Regions from separate parts of the Homo sapiens genome. Here all the other regions are linked to region 4. The links are contacts of gene promoters, found by promoter capture Hi-C in blood cells and fetal thymus (Javierre and others, 2016). All regions are on one chromosome and are shown on one strand. The core of a region is centred on a gene start or on the middle of the fragment in contact, and the rest is flanking DNA. Distances in the headings are between cores, read along the strand shown. Region 1 has its middle 89 kb from the start of RDUR. Region 2 has its middle 210 kb from the start of ZPLD1. Region 3 has its middle 190 kb from the start of ZPLD1. Region 4 holds the start of ALCAM (activated leukocyte cell adhesion molecule).

Region 1 (4,991 bases), core at 2,144-4,643, 3.3 Mb before region 4:
TTTATTATGCAGAAAACCAAAGAGAAAACTGACATAAATAGACAAATAATAGACATATGTAGAAGTAAAATGTATGACAAAAATAACACAGAGGCTGAAATGGGCAAAATAAAACTACACTGTTTAAGCAATCTTACGGTATATGTAAGTTGTATATTATCACTTGAAGGTAATCTGTGATATGTTAAAGACGTACACTATAAACTGTAAAGCAAATACTAAAATAATAAATTATTATTGTTAATACTGCCAATAAAGGAGACAAGATGGAATCATAAAAATATTCAGTTAATTCAGAATAAGGCAGAAAATAAACAAGAGAGCATAGATCATATGTGAAAAATAGAAAAAAGTATCAAGATAAGTTTAAATCTAACCATATCCATAGTTAACACTAGTTGTAAATGGACTAAACACCCCAATTAAAAGGCAGATATTTTCACATTATATATATATGCTGGTTAAGAGAAATGCACCTTAAGTGTAAAGACACAAGAAGGTCAAAACTAAAAGGATAGAAAAAAATATATTGACAATAGTCAAAAGGAAGCTAGGGTGGCTATATTAATAATAGACAAAGTAGATTTCAGATTTTATCCTGAGATAAAGTAAGGTACTTTATACTGATAATGATGTCAATTTACCAGAAGAAAAGAACATTCCTGAATGTTCATACGCTCAATAACAGAGCATCAAAATACTGGAATCAAAAACCGATAGAACTGCAAGAACAAATAGACATATCCACAGTTATAATCAGATATTTCAGGATCATTCTCTCCACAATTGATAGAACAAAGAGACAGAAAATCAGTAAAAATATAAGAAACTTGGACAAAACAATCAAATGACTTAATTCATATTAAGAAGTATTTATACAGAACTTCACCCGAAAAAGCAGCATAGATATTTACTTTCAAGTGTATATAGAATATTTACAAAGATCATATTCTGGGCCACAAAACGTATCTCAATAAATTTAAAAAGAATTAAAGTTTTACAAAGTCTGTTCTCTGGCTACAATGAAATTAAATTAGAAATCAATAACAGAATGATTTTCTGGCAAATCCTCAAATATTTGGAAACTAAATAAGACACTTCTAAATTGCCCATTGGGTCAAAGAAACGATCAAAAGGGATCAAGCTTGATGAGTCAGTAGGAAAAAATGTAAAAAAAGAGAGCTCAAAAGGGAAATAAGAAAGTACTATGAACTGAATGAAAATGAAATTACAACATATGAAATCGGTGGGATGCTGATAAATCAGAAATTATAAAAAATTTAAAGCACTAAGCAAAGAAATTAAAAACATTCAGTTTGGAAAGGAAGAAAGGAAACCATCTTTATTCATAGACAATATAATCTTCCATGCAGAGAATCCAATGGAATCTACAAAAAGCTATAAGAACTGAGTTAGCCAGATGGCAGGATACATTAGTATGCAAACATCAGTTGTATTTGTACATACTAACAATGAACATGAGAAATTGAAAAAAATCATTTAAAATAGCTTCAAAAGTATGAAAATACCGCTGTATTTGATAAAAGGTGAGCAAGATCTGTTTACTGAAATCTAAAAAATATTACTGGGAAAAACTCAACAATGGAGAGATATACAATGTTCATATGTCAGAAGAATCAATGTTGCTATAAGGTCATTTCTCCCCAAATTGATCTAAAGATTTAATGCAATCCCAATAAAAATTCTCACAGGCTTTTATATGTGAATTGCCAGCTAATTTTAAAATTCAAATAGAAAATGCAAAAGATCTAAAATAACCAAGACAGCTTTATAAATTACATATAGACATTATAAATGACATTAACTAAGACAGTGTGATATTGGTATGGACAAATGAATGGACAAATGGACAAATGGATGAATATAATAAAGAGTCCAAAATTAGACATATTTAGAGATAACTGATTTTTTTTTTTAAAAGATGCCAAAGCAATTCAGTGGAGAAAGGATGGACTTCTCAACAAATGGTGGTGGAACAGTTGGATATTCATAAGCAAAACAAGAGCTTTGATTTATATCTTACACTATATGTAAAACTTGATTCAAAATGGGCTATAGATCTAAATGAAAGAACTGAAATTATAAAACTTTTAGAAAAACATAGAGAAAATCTTTTTAAACCTAGATTAGGCAGAGATTTTTAAGATATGGCACTCAAAGCTCAATCTATAAAAATACATTTATATATCAGACAATCAAAATTATAAGCCTTTCTTGAAAGACACTGGTAAGAGAACAAATAAACAAGCCACAGCCTGGCAGAAAATATTTGCAAGTCATAGCTGATAACAGACTTGTATCAAGAATAGTTAAAGATCTCTAAAAATCCAACAATCAAAAAACACCCAATGAAAATTGGAAAGAAGATTTCAAATGACACTTCACCTAAGAAGATCTATAGAGAGCAAATAAGTATATGAAAAGATGTTCAACATCATTTGTTATTGAGAAATGCAAATTAAAGTAACTGACCATAACAAATGTTGGTGAGGATATGGAGGAACTATAACTCTCTTATGCTGCTGATGGGTATGTAAAATGATGTAACCTCTATGGAAGACAGTGTGGGCTAAGCTGAATAGTGGCCCTCAAAGAGGCTTATATCCTAATCCCTGGAGTCTGTGAATCTGTTATGTGGTAAAAGGAAATTTGCAGATGTGATTACATGAAAAATTTTGAAAATTAAAGAGATTATCGTGAATTACTCAGGTGACATCAATGCAATCACAAGGGTCCTTAGAAGAGGGAGATAGGAGAATCAGAGCCAGTAGCTGGAGATGTGAACACAGAAGTATGAGGTTAGAATGTCCTGAGGAATGGGCCATGATCTAAGGAATGCAGGCAGGTTGGAAGTTAAGGAAAGCAAAAGAATTTGCCCCTGAAGCCTCCAGAAAGAACATAGCCTGGGTGACATCTTGATTTTAGACTTTTGACCTCTAGAGCTGTAAGAGACAAATTGGTGTTGTTTAAAGCTGCTCAGTTTGTGGCAATTTGTCACAGCAATATTAGGACTGGCAGATTCTTAAACTGTTCAATATACATCTACAAGTATCCTAGTGCCTCTACTCCCAGATATTTAGGTTAGAAAAATGAAAGCATATGCCTATTCAAAGCTTATATGTGAATGTTTGCAGCAGCTTCATTGGTGTAACTGCCAAAACCTGGAAACTAGCCAAATGTCACAGGTGAGTGGTTAAAGAAATCATGATATATTCATACAATGGGATATTACCAAGCAATAAAAAGAATGAATTATTGATAGACACAACAACGTGGATTACTCAGAATTATTACACTGTTTAAAGAAGCTGGAGAAAAGAGTACAGTATAATTCCACTTTTAAAAATTCTGGAAAATGTAAACTGCAGTGACAGATCAGTATTTGCTTAGAAATGGGGAAGGGTGAGAGAACAGGAAAGAGTGGAAGGGAAGGATTACAGAAGATCATGAGGAAACATTTTGGGGGTGATGGATATGCTCATTGTCTTGATTGTGTGATGGTTTTATAGGAATATACATCATCAAAACTTATCAAATTGTATACTTAAAATATGTGAATTTATTTTATGTGAATTATACCTAAAACAAAAACAATGACAAAGCATACATACCTTTACAACAAAGGTTGTTATGAAGCTTAAATGAGCTATTATGCATATAACACTTGCTAAAATTCCTGACACAGAGTAAGCATTAAATAAAGTCCAGCTGTTATTATTTTTTAGTTCAGAGGGGGAAGTGCTAGAGCAGTAATTGTGAATTACCAATAGTCTTTTGAAAGAAATGTCAAGTCGAATTTCCTCACAGTAGATATGGGAAAAAAATGAGGAACAGATATCAAATTTAGAATTTTATTAAATATATTGCACAAAAATATGTTGCAATAAGAGTGTGGCTTGATAATACTCTTTCTATTTTAGGGTAGGAGCTGTGAAATTCTTTCTTGTTCTTGGTATATAAAGTTTGCTTACTGAGTGGCAAGGGTTCTATCATATTCTTCTTGGACACAGTAGCTGCTTAGCAAATATCGGTCAGATTGAACAGAATTAATAGTCATCTCTGTCTTTCTAATCCAGGAACCTGAAATTCATGGCCACATGTGCTATGCAGTTAATTAACCTCAAAACAATTTTGGAGATTCCTTGCCTCAAGACACTTATTCTTCCCTGATGTAAAATATTTAGGTAATGATAGACATGAAACAGTGACTTATGCAAAGAACATACCTGGGAAACTCCAGAAACTGTAGGGGGAAGTGTCTAGGAGAGGTGAGGTTGGATTTGGCTGGGTTTGGCGGGGTACTTTCATTTCTCATGGTTTCCACATGTTCTTTCCTGAGTGGAGTAGACTCTTCATCAGCCAATAGATATTTGTATCTTCTTCTCTAGTTTTCGTTCTTGCTGGGGGTAGGAGTTGGGTACTGCTGTGTGGAATGAAAATTATTTCTTCCACATTGTGCCTACTCTGAAATTTGTCTCTCACATGGCACTAAGTAACTCCATGCTGGTTGCATGATAGGCCATAGAAAGGTTTAACAGCCACACTTGGTTTCTCCTCCACAGCTAGTTTTATCACACAACATTATCACTTTGAGAGCATATTACTTAATCAATAAAATCCCAAAGTATAATTGTTTGTAACTGGTCAAGTTTACCATCTCAGTGAGGGTAGGACTGTAAATCTTTAGTGTTCTTCAGGATTGACTGAAAAACTTGCCCATCACAACATAGATCTTAATCTGTGGTATAGATCTTAATTAAAAAAATGTTTTCTCATTATAAAGGCACTACATGAAGAAGACACTTTTTATATATAATTAACATATGAAAGATGCTCATTCTCCTTAATAATCAAGGGAATGTGGATCAAAATCATAATGAGACATGACGAAGTTGACAAAGATTTTACTCAAGTGTTGGTGAGGATATGGAGTAAAAACAACTTTAATATACTGCAAGTGGGAGTATGAA
Region 2 (4,359 bases), core at 1,062-3,561, 3.1 Mb before region 4:
GAGGAGTTTGCTATTACCCACCTACTGAAGCCTACTTCTGTCAATTTGTCAAACTAATTCTCCATCCAGCTTTGTGCCCTTGCTGGAGAAGAGTTGTTATCATTTGGAGGAGAAGAGGCATTCTGATTTTTGGAATCTTCAGCATTTTTGTTCTGTTTTTTCGTCATCTTTGTGGATTTATCTACCTTTAATCTTTGATGCTGATGACCTTTTGATGAGGTTTTTGTGTGGGCATCTTTTTTGTTGATGTCAATGTTATTGCTTTCTCTTTGTTAGTTTTTCCTTTAACAATCAGGCCCCTCTTTTGCAGGTCTGCTGGAGTTTGCTGGAGGTCCACTCCAGACTCTGTTTGCCTGGGTATCACCAGCAGAGGCTGCAAAACTGCAAAGATTGCTGCCTGCTCCTTCCTCTGGAAGCTTCATCACAGAGGAGGACCTGCCTGATGCCAGCCAGAGCTCTCCTGTATGAGGTGTCTGTCCACTCCTGCTGGAAGGTGTCTCCCAGTCAGGAAGCATAGGGGTCAGTAACCCACTTGAGGAGGCAGTCTATCCCTTAGCAGAGCTTGAGGGCTGTGCTGGGAGATCTGCTGCTGTCTTCAGAGATGGCAAGTAGGAACATTTAAGTCTGCTGAAGCTGCGCCCACAGCCACCCTTCCCCCAGGTGCTCTGTCCCAGGGAGATGGGAGTTTTGTCTATAAGCCCCTGACTGGGGCTGCTGCCTTTCTTTCAGCGATGCTCTGCCCAGTGAGGAGGCATCTAGAGAGGCAGTCTGGCCCAAGCCACTTTGTTGTGCTGAGGTGAGCTCCCCCCAGTCCGAACTTCCTGGCTTCCTTAACACTGTGAGGGGAAAACCACCTACTCAAGCCTCAGTAATGGTGAATGCCTCGCCCCTGACCAAGCTGGATCACCCCAGGTCAACTTCACACTGCTGTGCTGGCAGTGAGAATTTCAAGCCAGTGATTCTTAGCTTGCTGGGCTCCATGGGAGTGGGACCTACCGAGCAAGACCACTTTGCTCCCTGGCTTCAGCCCCCTTTCCAAAGGGGTGAACGGTTCTGTCTCGCTGGAGTTCCAGGCAACACTGGGGTACAAAAAAAAGACTCCTGCAGCTAGCTTGGTGTCTGCCTGAACAGCTGCCCACTTTTGTGCTTGAAACCCAGGGCCCTGGTGGTGTAGTCACCCGAGGGAATCTCCTGGTCTGTTGGTTGCAAAAACCGTGGGAAAAGTGTAGTATCTGGGCCGGTTAGCACAGTCCCTCACAGCTTCCCTTGGCTGGGGAGGGAGGCCCCGGGCCCCTTGCACTTCCTGGGTGGGGCAACGCCCCACCCTGCTTTTGCTCAACCTCCGTGTGCTGTACCCACTGTCTAACCAGTCCCAATGAGATAAACCGGGTGCCTCAGTTGGAAATGCAGAAATCACCCAGTTTCTGCGTTGGTCCCGCTGGTATCTGCAGACCAGAGCTGTTCCTATTCAGCCGTTTTCCATAGATAATATTTAAAACTTGGAGAATAAAGGAGACAAATGAAAGAGAGACCACAGAGTAAGAAAAGAAGAGTTGCTCAGGACTAAGCCTGACCAACCTAATGTTCCTGAGGAGAATGAGAAGAAGGGATCATGGAAAAATGAGGGTGTAGTGCTACTGAAACTCAGAGACATGGCTCAAGAAAGCAGTAAGGTGTTGAATGCTGATGAGAGGTTTAATGCGATGAAAATTGAAAACTGCTTAACTAGTCTGAGACTGTGATCCTCCACTTGTATATGTTCTGCTTTAGGGAGAGTCACCTAATGTATTTGGATTTCAGTTTCATCATCTATAAAATAGTTGTGCTTGTGAAAGGCGGTGTTGAGTGCTGTGAAAGGAAGGGGTTTGCTTGGGAAGTGTCAGACATTGCATCGGACAATGCAAGATGGTTAAGTGTGGAGGTGAGGGTGGAGCAGATGATCTACCAACTCTAAAAATGTATGAAATATGAGCCAATGTATAGGATGATAGTATTTAACTTTACAGAGTAGATGAAAGGATTTTCTGTATCACTCGGTAAAGTACCAAGTACTAGGTAAATACAAAGTGTTATTTCTGTTTACTGAGAATATACTTATCAAAGGGAATTGAGGATTTGTGGCAGCTGTTTTAAGATAGACATAGGCTATAGCCATGATGGGTGATCTCATATAGAAGAAGCTGGAGGCAGAATTGTCAGGTCTGTGAACCCAAATATTAGTGCATCAGCACCTTAGAAATTAAGAGGTCCCTGAGGTTTTGAGATTGGCATCTGGTCTTCTTGAGTGACAGCCACTAGGAGATATTGCCTTGTTCTCATACCACAGAACTATCTGGATAATCTGAGGCCACCTGCTGGGTGGTCAGGCCAGAACATCCATCCTTTTGGTACCGCTCTCAGAATTGCTCACTCCTGCCCGCTACCACAAACATTTAATTTTATATAGGGGAGATAGTGGAAGGGGAGGAGGATCCCTGTTCCCCAGGGCCTTGCCACAGAAATAATGCCGAGGCTTCCACTGCTTCCTAGTATGTCATGCAGGGAGAAATCACTGGGTCCTCATGAAGCAACCCTATGCATTTGGGAACCTCATGTACAATGAATGCTCAATAAATACTTGTTTTTTAAAAAAGGGAATAACTAGCAATTCGTACTGTGTGTATTAGTGGGAGGCAAGGCTAACCTTTGCCGTTGGCCTATGGTGTCGGCTCTGTGGGATGATTTTGCAAATGTTCTGTTCCCACATTAGTAGCTTTCCAGATGATTACAATTCTGCTTCTAGAATTCCACCCTTTAATAGGCATTGTTCTCAGACAAAATGCAAGTGAGAGCAAAATCACATCATTAGTTTTTTATATCTTACTGCATTTGAATTATTTGGATGTCTCTTGAGAGCAGAGTTTGAAATGGATGCTGAGAAAGCCGGGGAGCTGAAGGAAGGTGGGAAACTACACAGAAAACGGCAGCTACAAATATCTAATTCTACAGGTTTCACAGTTGTGCCTAACACTGGTCCTGATCAGTAGCTTTGACAAGGCACGTACCTGAGGACAATGTGTGCCCCCTCTCCTTCTTTCTGTTTTTCATTAATTCCTTTATACTTCGCTTTGAATATGTATTGTGAGTCAGATGCCCCGCACATAATCACATGTTCTTAATACAGTTACACCCAGATGCACAAAGAGTTTGCAGGTAACGTTTTCAGTCTCTCTCAGCAGCTTCCAATTTTGTGCGACTGATTGATTAACACAGTAACATGAGCAAACACGAAGTACCAGAGCTTCAGGTGACACATTTAATTAACGACATTCAGGCAAGCAAAGAAAGATAAGCATTCTGGTAGCAGCCAATTACAAATTACAGATTAATGAATGTAATTTCGGGTTTCAGAGATTTTCCTATTTTATTCTAACACTGGGATCAACATTCATCAGCTCAGAAGGGGGAAGGTGCAGGCCTGCTAAGCAAGGTATCAACCTAAGGATAGCTTTTGCTTTTGCTCCAGCTCCATGTCTGATCAGATAGAATTACCAAACTTAATCTGACCTCTAGTGGCACTTTGCATTAACAAGCACATTTGAAATCCACTTAGGAATTTTGCTGTGAGAATTCTGCTATCATCCCATCTTACAGCTGGAAGGAACCTTAGAGATGATCTGCTTGGCAGGCTTCTGCCCACTCCCCTATTTTACAGATGAGGAGACTGAGGCCTGGAGATATTGATGGGTGATGATAAAAATTGAATAGCTAATTGATAGAAAAGTCAATGATGACAGAATCCAAGTTTCTAAAAAAATTTAATTGTAATTTTTGTGGTAGGTGTATACATTTATGGGATACATAAGATGTTTTGATACAGGCATGCAATGAGTAATAATGACATCATGTAAAATGAGTCAAGTATTTTATCCTTTGTATCACAAACAATCTAGTTATACTCTTTTAGTTACTTTAAGATGTACAATTAAATTATTAATGACTATAGTCACTCTGTTATGCTATCAAATACTAGGTATTATTCATTCTTTCTATTTTTTATACTCATTAAATCATCCCCATCTCCCCCATACCTTCCTACACTCCTTCCCAGCCTATGGTAACCATTCTTCTTCTATCTCCAGAATCCAGGTTTTTAGATTTCTACATTGTTATGAGTGTGTTAGCAGAGAAAAGTCAATATGCAAGTCTGTAAGATTCTTGATGAGAATAAGCTTAGGTGTATAAAATTAATGGCTGTCTGAATATAGGTGAAAAGCATCAAAACACTTTTGGTTCAATATCTGTATATTTTAGCCCAAAGTTCCAAAGTTTTATGGCATTATCTGAGTCAAAATAACTGACTTTAATTTAGCTACATTT
Region 3 (4,799 bases), core at 819-3,318, 3.1 Mb before region 4:
TCCCGGCTTTTAGAGCTTGCCCACATTCCTTGGCTTGTTGTATCATTCCATCTTCAAAGCCAGCAATGACCAACTGAATCCTTCTCACATCGTTTCATTCTGACACTGTCTCTTCTGCTCCCTTCTTTCATTCATAAGAACGCTTGTGATTGTATTGAACCTACCTGAATAAATCAGGATAATCTCTCTATCTCCAGACCAGCTGATTTGCAATCTTAATTTCATCTGCAACCTAAATTCCCCTTTGCGATTTATTTGATAATATTCACAGATTCTGGAAATCAGGAACTAGACATTATGTTTTTCTAGTGATGGTGGTTGGGGGATGACATTATTCTGTATTCTATACTAGCATAGGGCCTGGCTCATATCAAGAGATCAATAAGCTTTGCAGAATGAATGGACAGGGTCTGTAGGGAGTGTGGCTTGGCTATAGGCAGTCAGAATGACTTTGAAAGCAATGGTGATTGAAGAGGAATTGGAGGATGCTGAGGGAGAAATTTCTTGGTAAGAGTGGAGTGTTTCAGCCATAGGGCCTGATGGTTGATTTTGGTGTTAAGGGCAGCTTGGCAGGCTGACCCTCAGGTGACACACAATCAATCCACTTCCTAGTGTTCACAGCTGTGTGTAATACTCTCCCTTTGGCTTTGGGCAGGAACTATTAGTTGCTTCTAGGCAATAACATGAGACAATGAGATGGCACTTTCATGCTTAGGTATTTACATAGCAAAGGTGATGGATGTCATTTCTGTGACTGCTATAGATTATATGAGTTCTGGAACTGGAGACTCCTTGTGGGCCTGATGAAGTAAGCAGTCATGTTGGAGAAGCCAACACTGCAGGGAGCCTTTAGGAATAATGGGAAGCTTCCGGGACCTGGAGGTGACCTCCAATCAATAGCCAGCAAAAAGCCAGGGCCCTACGTATTATAGCTACAAGGAAGCAATTTCTATCAACAACTTCAATGAATTTGGGTGCAGATTTTTACTCATTTGAGCTTCCAGATGAAAATGCAGCCCAGCAGCTTTGTAAAACCCTGAGCAGGGGACCCAGTTAAGCCATGCCTTGACCTAAGGAAACTGTGAGATAATAAATGTTTTGTTTTAAGCTACTGAGATTGTGGTAATTTGGATTCGGCAATAGAAAACAAATGCCAGCAATTTGGGAATTACGGAATAGATGGCAGTAGGAGCTGCCCTGCTCAGGCTTATGGGGGAAAGAGTTCTTGACTGTATGTTTACCTCCATTTTACAGCTGGAACTAATGACGACGAGCAAGCCGAAACTCATTACTCTTGATTCAATGGTTAGTGAAAAAGATGGGAAGAGAATGTATTATTCTGACTTCTGCTGGAATTCCTTCCAACCCTTCCTGGGGCCATTGATTCTCTTGGAATTGAAGTTCATAGCAGGAGACTTTGCTTCATTAATCCTCACAGCAGAGCTCTAAAAGAAGTCTTCTGGAAGCCTTGTTGGGATTCTGTTTTCTTTCAAATAGAGTCACAGAGTCACAGAGAGATCCCACCTAGCTAAAAGTTACAGTAAAGATTTAGGTAAATAGCTGGGCATGGAATGAATAAGATTAATTATGCTTAGCAGTTATTATAATTACATGCAGGCTTTTGAATATACTGCTTAACATTCCTACACTACTTAAAAAATTATCTATAAAGATCAGTCAAAACTCAGCTTTAAAAAAATGTATTTGAAGGATCTATTTTAAATTTATCAATAATATTTAGGTGAAGATTTTAACACATGTAAATGATTTCAAAAATTCTTTGACCTAACCACTTTCCTCATTTCACAGGTAGAGTTATTGAGTGTGGAAAGATTAAGTGAATTTTCCCACATGGTTACACAGCTAATTCTTACTAATCCAGTTTCCAAGATTAGAGTTTCATATTGTTTTCACCTATAAACTCTACAATAGGGATTTATGGAAGATAGTAACAGTGCACTAAGTTCACACTCCTACCTTAAACAGAACCACATATATCTTAAGCATCTCAGACCCATAATTATCTGTTTTTCTAAATAATCCTAAAGGAGGTAATATTCCTTGGTGCTTTAGCTTCAACTTCAATTAATGTCTACTGGCATTTTAAATAATCATCATCCTTATATTCCTTGGTTAGGTATTGGTTATGGTCTGAGGTGTGGTACAGGCCTGTAAATTCTTTTGTTTTGGGTGGGACCAAGGACAAGGGGATTGAGGTTATATCATCTTTGCCTGAGTTGGGGCACCAGGTAGAAATCTGTTGCAGATGACTTGCCCAAGAGCATACAGCTAATTAGTGACAGGCTTAAAACTTGGAAGCTCTTAAATATCACAACTATTATTTGTTTGTTTGTTTTTCTTGATTTTGTATATTTGCTACTGCTACACTGTTTATCTACCACACTCGGTCATTGCCACAACACAATACACACACACATACACATCTTTGCTCTTCTACTAACTTCCTGGAGTTGGTGGTGGTGCTGATAGTCATGGCATACGTCCACAAAAATATTTTGAATGCTCATAATAGCGGCAGTGTGGTTAAGTAGAAGAATCAGGTTTTGACTTACTACAGGGAAACTGAATCTTCTGAGTCTCAGTGTCCTCATCTATAAGCTGAAAGCAAAGAGTTAATAGTGAGAATAGGTGTGGGAGCCTCCTGGGGCAAGGCTGGGATGGTGGGGTCCAGTGTTTATGTTGCTGGGAGTATGGCTACCTTGGAAGTCGCAAGTGCTTTGTATATTCCAAAGTGTTTCTCTCTCTCTCTCTCTCTCTCTATATATATATATATATATAGTGATATATATAGTGATATATAATGATATATATATTTAGTGATATATACAGTGCTATTGTTACTCCATATCAGGCATTATGATGAATGCAAGAGAAATATTGTCAGATATATAGTCCTTGCATTCAATAAAGGTATACTGTAGTTATAATCTCAGGATATAAAGGGTATAACAGGATGGAATATGCTGAGTGGCCAGTGCATGGCAAAGATAAATACCTAGAGAGAAGTGAGATGGCTATGAAATGGACAATTGAGATGACTATGAAGTGGACAATTGGGAAGACTTTGTGGAGAAGTGATGACTTGAGCTGGGTCATGAAGGACATGTAGCAGACAACAAGGCACCATCTTAGGCAGGTGGAATGCATCAAGCAAAGGCATGGAGGTTGCTCAAGGAGTGGCTAATATACAAAAGAGGAAATGTGACAAATATTTACGGAGTAGAATTAAGTCAGAGCAGATATTTACATCAAAGCTTAGAATTTTATTATGCTGGCAACAGGGAACCACAGGTGACTTTTGAGCAGACGTAGTCTGTCCAAAGTGAACAGCTTTGGACAGGTTTAGGAAGCTTACTTTTGCAGGAGTGTAGATTGGTTTCTAGTAGGGAATAAGGCAGGGAGAGCTGCTTATTCTTTTTTCTCCTCAGCAGTTGTGGGGCAATTGGATTGCTGCTTTCTAAATGATAATTAGAAAAGTGTTGAGATTATGTGAGGCTCTCCTTGTTTCTGGAGTACCAGATTTCTGGAGTACCCTCGTCTCCCATCCCTGCATAGGCCTCTAAGTCCTGCTCCTCACTAAACACACAAAACCTCAAGGCTGATTGCCTGGTGTTAGTTTTGAGTCAAATTATTTTAATGACCAGCAATTACATTACAGAGCCACTGATAACAAAAGCTCATTTTTTTTTCTCAAGGTACAAGGAAAGGAGAAAGAATCTTGAAGTCTCATAAGAGAAAAGATCTTTTTTTCCTGTTCCTCTCCCTCCTCCGAACTTCCACCCTCCAAAAGGCCCCAGTGTGTGTTGTAAATAACTAATGGGTACTAGGCTTAATACCTGGGGGTGATGAAACAATCTGTACAACAAACTCCCATGACACAATTCCACCTGTGTAACAAACCTACACTTGTACCCCTGACCTTAAAAGAGATCTATTAAGGAAAGGAGACCTATTGCATCCATTCCTGACCGAGCAAGATTTTTTTTTCTTCTCTATCTGTTGACCATGTTTTATGTATTTTCAGTTAACTGTCTGATCAATGACTATTTTACTTCTTCTAGTGGAAGTATTTTCAATAGGTTGTTTCACTTATTGCCATTGACATTTTTCTGCTTTTCAACCAGAATATGTATATAATAATTTGCTAATATTTTTGTGCCTGTTTATGTAAAAAGTAGTATTTGAGTGACTATAAAAATAATATTCTTATATTAAGTACTGTCCACTTAAAAGCTACAGCCAACAAGAATACGTTATTTGTATTTTGAACTTCCTTCTTTCATAGGCATACTAGTCATTAATTCAAAATCAAATTAGGAAAAAAGAAAAAAAAGGCCGGGCACGGTGGCTTACGCCTGTAATCCCAGCACTTTGGGAGGCTGAGGCGGGTGAATCACCTGAGGTCGGGGGTTCAAGACCAGCCTGACCAACATGGAGAAATCTCGTCTCTACTAAAAATACAAAATTAGCCTGGCGTAGTGGCACATGCCTGTAATCCCAGCTACTCGGGAGGCTGAGGCAGGAGAATTGCTAGAACCCAGGAGGCGGAGTTTGTGGTGAGCCAAGATCGTGCCATTGCACTCCAGCCTGGGCAACAAGAGTGAAACTCCATCTCAAACAACAACAACAGCAACAACAAAAACAGAATTAGTGTAATTCTAATCATTAAAGTGACAAATGAACATAAACATGATGGGGAAACAGTAGAATAATCCATGAGAATTTTATTTGTATTCAAATGAAAAAATAGAGAAAGAAAAAGTGCTTCATCTTCTGTA
Region 4 (4,428 bases), core at 1,817-4,316:
ATGACTAAACTATACAATAAATATTATTGGAATACTATGTATTCTCAATTGTAACAAAAGTGACTGTGATCTACATGTAGCTGGAAACACTCTTCCTCTCAAGAATTAGGTAAGATGGATCCAATCCCACATTGACTAGATTTTGAAAGATTAATTCGATTACATTACTTTGTGGAGCTTACATTTTTATGTTTATTTCTAACTCTGAGCTCTTGCTTATGCTACATTATTTCAGTTTAGAAGTGGTCTTGTCATCTCATATGCACTGTATCTGGCCTACGCAGATAGGGTGCGCTGCTTTATTAATAAATTTCCTTAATGAAAATGTGTGTGAAAGGATGAGAGAACTTATGTTTAAATCAATCGCCCCACCAAAAAAACCATACATTTATTGCTACGCATTCTTGATAAGCAAAGTGGATAGTGATGAGCAAAGTAGATAGGAATTCAGTTCAAGAATCAGAATGCCTGGGTAGAACCCTGGCTTTACCATTGCTATGAATCATTGTGTGACCTTGGAAAAGTTGCTTCGAGTCTCTGGGTTTCAGTTTCTTCATGAGTAAAATGAGGATGAAAATAGCAACTCCTTCAATAAATTTTTATGAGGGGAATACATCTATTAATTCATATAAATTGCTTAGAATATTCTAACATGTAAGTGTTGCTAATTAATAGATCTAAAGACCTTTGAACATTTCTAAACTCATGCTTTGTATTGTTGCCTTCGTCCCCACTCCCAGGCCAAATTTCTATTTTCATGGTTATTATTTTGTTTAATATAGAGCCGTTTCACCATTTTTTTTTAATGACCAATAGCCTTTGGAGTTACTAGTCCAAGTGGCTTATCAAGGCATTTTCCTAAACTAGGACACATTCCTTTCTAAAAACAATTCTGGAAGCAGTGGACTACACATTCAAATATATATTATACATATGCCCATATATATATGCATGTGTTTGTGTATAAGTATAATATGTACATATTTGTATAGTCAGTTGCTCCCAGAATTCCACGTGTGTGTTTGTGTGTTTGATCTCATTTGATCTTCACAGCAATCCCATGAGGCTAGCACTATTATCACTTTTTACAAGAAAGGAGACTGAAGCTTAAAGAGGTTAAGTGAGTTGACCAAGATCATACAGTTAGTGTCAGAGCCCAAATCAGTCTTCCTTTTGCAAATCTACCTTTAAGCAATTATGCTGTATTAACTCCCATCGTAAAATAGAGGAGATCAGATAGAGCGTTCGCGGACCTAGGTTAAATATATTGTCAGGTCGATTTATTCTAATACACCCCACTTACAACCACAGTGAAAAAGAAAACAATTCCCTAAAGCAATTCTACAGGAGTCCATGGAAATGCTAGCATTTCAGCCAAGCTTAGCTCAAGGAATATAGAGTTAAAAGGCATTTGCCTCCTAGCGATAGCCTTCCTGTTGATTCATAAGATGCAAATGAAATGTTAATGTTTAAACCAAGTGGGAGAAACTACTTATTTTGAGAGGAAAAAAATATGGTATAAAAGCTCTACTCTAGAATATTGTTAATGTAAGGAGAACTGGAAGAACAGGACAAGCAGGCTTTTGAGAAAAATCACAGCTGAAGATAGGGCTTAATAGTTTAGAGCACTAAAAGATAAACAATTTTAAAAATCAGTGTGTGAGTGTGTGTGTGTGTGTGTGTGTCTGTGTGTTGCGAGTCTCCAATCTCGCTGGTAACTCGCAGTTTTCTGATGAAAGTGCAGTATGTAACGATTACTAGTTGGCATCCTCTGCTGGAGACCAGTCTCACAAAAGGGTGACCCTGTGATGCACGAAAGGCTATTTAATGCCCCAGCGAAGTGCTTCAGGGACCAAGATTTTATTATTCTTTGGTGATGAGAGTTGTGATCCTGCATCCCTGATTTAGAGCCACTTAGGGCTCCGACAGCTCCACCCCGGTGTTCTAGAGGAAAATCTTCCTTCATGCTCTCTGCCTGATTTGAAAGCAACACAGCTTCCCGATGTTCCTCCTGGGAGGTGGTTCAATCTTTAGAAATTGCCTAAGAAGCCTGTCCATCTGCTGGAGTGCCTGGCTTTCGGGAACGGACCAAGACGGACTTGGCTTTTAATCTGAAATAATTTGAGGATTTTCTGTCTATAACTTAAAATCACCGCTTAACTCAAAGTAAAAAAGTGACACGCTCTCTAGAGGGCTTTTGTAGACATTGGGAAAATCCGTATGACGAAGTACGGTTTAGAAATTCCGGATTTAATTTCCCCCGGGAAAAGCAAATATCTTCTGTTGGTACCGGGCAGTCGACTCACGTAGTCTTCCTTTAAAACCAAGTCTATGCCAGCCGGGTGTGAGGGGAGTGGTGGGGGTGAGCAGGGGGAGGAGAGAGATTCGAAAAGTACAGGAGGAATCAGTCCAGTACAGGGGTTGCCCCTGCCAACAAGTAGCTATTCCTGTTAACTCCCAAGAAGCAAGTTTCCACCTTTGCCACTTCCTCCTGCCCTTTCCTTTCCTTTTCCCTTCACTCCCGCTCTTGGACCCAAGGTTCGCTCCCCACCGCCACCGCCCTGCCCCACTATTCTCTTTACAGGACAGAAGGCTGCAGCAGCACGGCGGAGAAAAATCTCTGAGGAATGAGTCAGTGGGATGGGCGTATGGGTGGAGGGAGAGGGCAGTCGATTTTTAAACCTCAGCGAGGGTGGGTGGGCAGTTGGAAGCCAGAGGCCTTATCACTGGGGCGCTGCAACATCACAGAAAGTGTTAGTCCCAGGGCTCTCCCTGGCGCGCGCGGCTCCTGTGCTTGCTTCTTATTGGCGGACCTGGCCCTGGGGGCGGAGCCGCGGTGAAGCACCGCTCATCCGGGCTCCAGGACCGGGGCACGCGGTTCTCCCTGATCCCGGAGCTGGGCTCAGGGCTCGGACTCAGTCCTGCAGCGCCTCTAGGCTGCGGATCCGCGCTTCAACCACCTGCTTTGCGCTGCGTCCGGGGAAGTGGGGAGGAGACGGGAGGGAGGGAGGAGGCGGGGAGAGGAGGAAAGAGGCAGCTTACACACGCCTTCCAGTCCCTCTACTCAGAGCAGCCCGGAGACCGCTGCCGCCGCTGCCGCTGCTACCACCGCTGCCACCTGAGGAGACCCGCCGCCCCCCCGTCGCCGCCTCCTGCGAGTCCTTCTTAGCACCTGGCGTTTCATGCACATTGCCACTGCCATTATTATTATCATTCCAATACAAGGAAAATAAAAGAAGATACCAGCGAAAAGAACCGCTTACACCTTTCCGAATTACTCAAGTGTCTCCTGGAAACAGAGGGTCGTTGTCCCCGGAGGAGCAGCCGAAGGGCCCGTGGGCTGGTGTTGACCGGGAGGGAGGAGGAGTTGGGGGCATTGCGTGGTGGAAAGTTGCGTGCGGCAGAGAACCGAAGGTGCAGCGCCACAGCCCAGGGGACGGTGTGTCTGGGAGAAGACGCTGCCCCTGCGTCGGGACCCGCCAGCGCGCGGGCACCGCGGGGCCCGGGACGACGCCCCCTCCTGCGGCGTGGACTCCGTCAGTGGCCCACCAAGAAGGAGGAGGAATATGGAATCCAAGGGGGCCAGTTCCTGCCGTCTGCTCTTCTGCCTCTTGATCTCCGCCACCGTCTTCAGGCCAGGTGAGCAAGGGCCTGGGAGCAGCCCCAGACAGACGTGGGCCTGGAGCAGTTTCCTAGGTCCCCGTCCCAGCCTCGCACCCCCGAGGCAGTGCGCCCAGGCGCGTGGTGGAGGTAAGGGGACCGCTGTCCTGGCACAGAGCTGTCCCCGGGCTCGGTCACCTGTGCCGCACGTTTGGGCTTGGCTGGTTAGCTCAAGTTTGGGCATCAAGCTGGGGAAACTGGGTGAATCTCCAGGAACTTGGTGCTCCGGGGTGGGCAGGATTCGCCTGACGCTCTCCCCTTGTCCCTGCGGCTCCCAGCTAGGCGGCGGACTCTTGCCCTCTGACAGTTCCTCCTGTCTCTGGGTATCCAAGTCCACGTCACTGCGCCCCGAGCAGTTTTTCTTTCGCTTAGTTCTCGGATGAAATAACTGCCGGCACTTTTTCGTGATAAATCCCCTAGTAACTTCCCCTTGGTGAGCCGAGGAAGGGATGGGAGGGGTAGAGAAGGAGAGGACTTTAATCACCTCCCCCCGCCCCCCTTGCGAAACCTGCTAAAGCTTAAAATCGTGGTTTCAACGTTACCCCCTGCGGTCCCCGTCCATTGTCTGGGCGGGTGGTGAGTGAAAGGGTGACCGCAGGCAGATAACACAGCCAGAACAGGAATTAGTAGGTAGGCCTGGGAGACACCTCAGTGAGAGGTTTGTGAATTTCCAGGACCTGCTCATAGAGCCTCAGTTCTCAGTTCTGTACTGAGTCTTGGAAGAGAGAGAGAGAGAGAGAGAGAGAGAGAGAGAGAGAGAGAAAAGGC

The links. The method cuts DNA at HindIII sites, captures the fragments that hold promoters and counts their contacts. A CHiCAGO score of 5 or more calls a contact.
Region 1: a contact is called between a fragment that was not itself captured here and the fragment with the promoter of ALCAM in region 4, in 1 of 17 cell types (monocytes). The highest score is 8.3, in monocytes.
Region 2: a fragment that was not itself captured here is called in contact with the fragment with the promoter of ALCAM in region 4 in 2 of 17 cell types (total B cells and naive B cells); the score reaches 6.7 in total B cells.
Region 3: a fragment that was not itself captured here is called in contact with the fragment with the promoter of ALCAM in region 4 in 1 of 17 cell types (naive B cells); the score reaches 5.3 in naive B cells.

What each region holds. Positions count from the first base shown.
Region 1 is chr3:102,026,996-102,031,986 of GRCh38, forward strand. No RefSeq gene overlaps it. Among named protein-coding and RNA genes, the nearest start is that of RDUR, 89 kb to the left of the region's middle. The HindIII fragment of the contact is 523 bases long and covers 3,133-3,655 here.
Region 2 is chr3:102,222,051-102,226,409 of GRCh38, forward strand. No RefSeq gene overlaps it. Among named protein-coding and RNA genes, the nearest start is that of ZPLD1, 210 kb to the right of the region's middle. The HindIII fragment of the contact is 3,795 bases long and covers 415-4,209 here.
Region 3 is chr3:102,241,543-102,246,341 of GRCh38, forward strand. No RefSeq gene overlaps it. Among named protein-coding and RNA genes, the nearest start is that of ZPLD1, 190 kb to the right of the region's middle. The HindIII fragment of the contact is 2,409 bases long and covers 865-3,273 here.
Region 4 is chr3:105,363,843-105,368,270 of GRCh38, forward strand. ALCAM (activated leukocyte cell adhesion molecule) reads left to right here and starts at 3,067. Exons shown (of 16, transcript NM_001627.4): 1 at 3,067-3,639. The coding sequence starts at 3,567. RefSeq lists silencers at 3,012-3,111, 3,442-3,561. The HindIII fragment of the contact is 2,798 bases long and covers 1,378-4,175 here.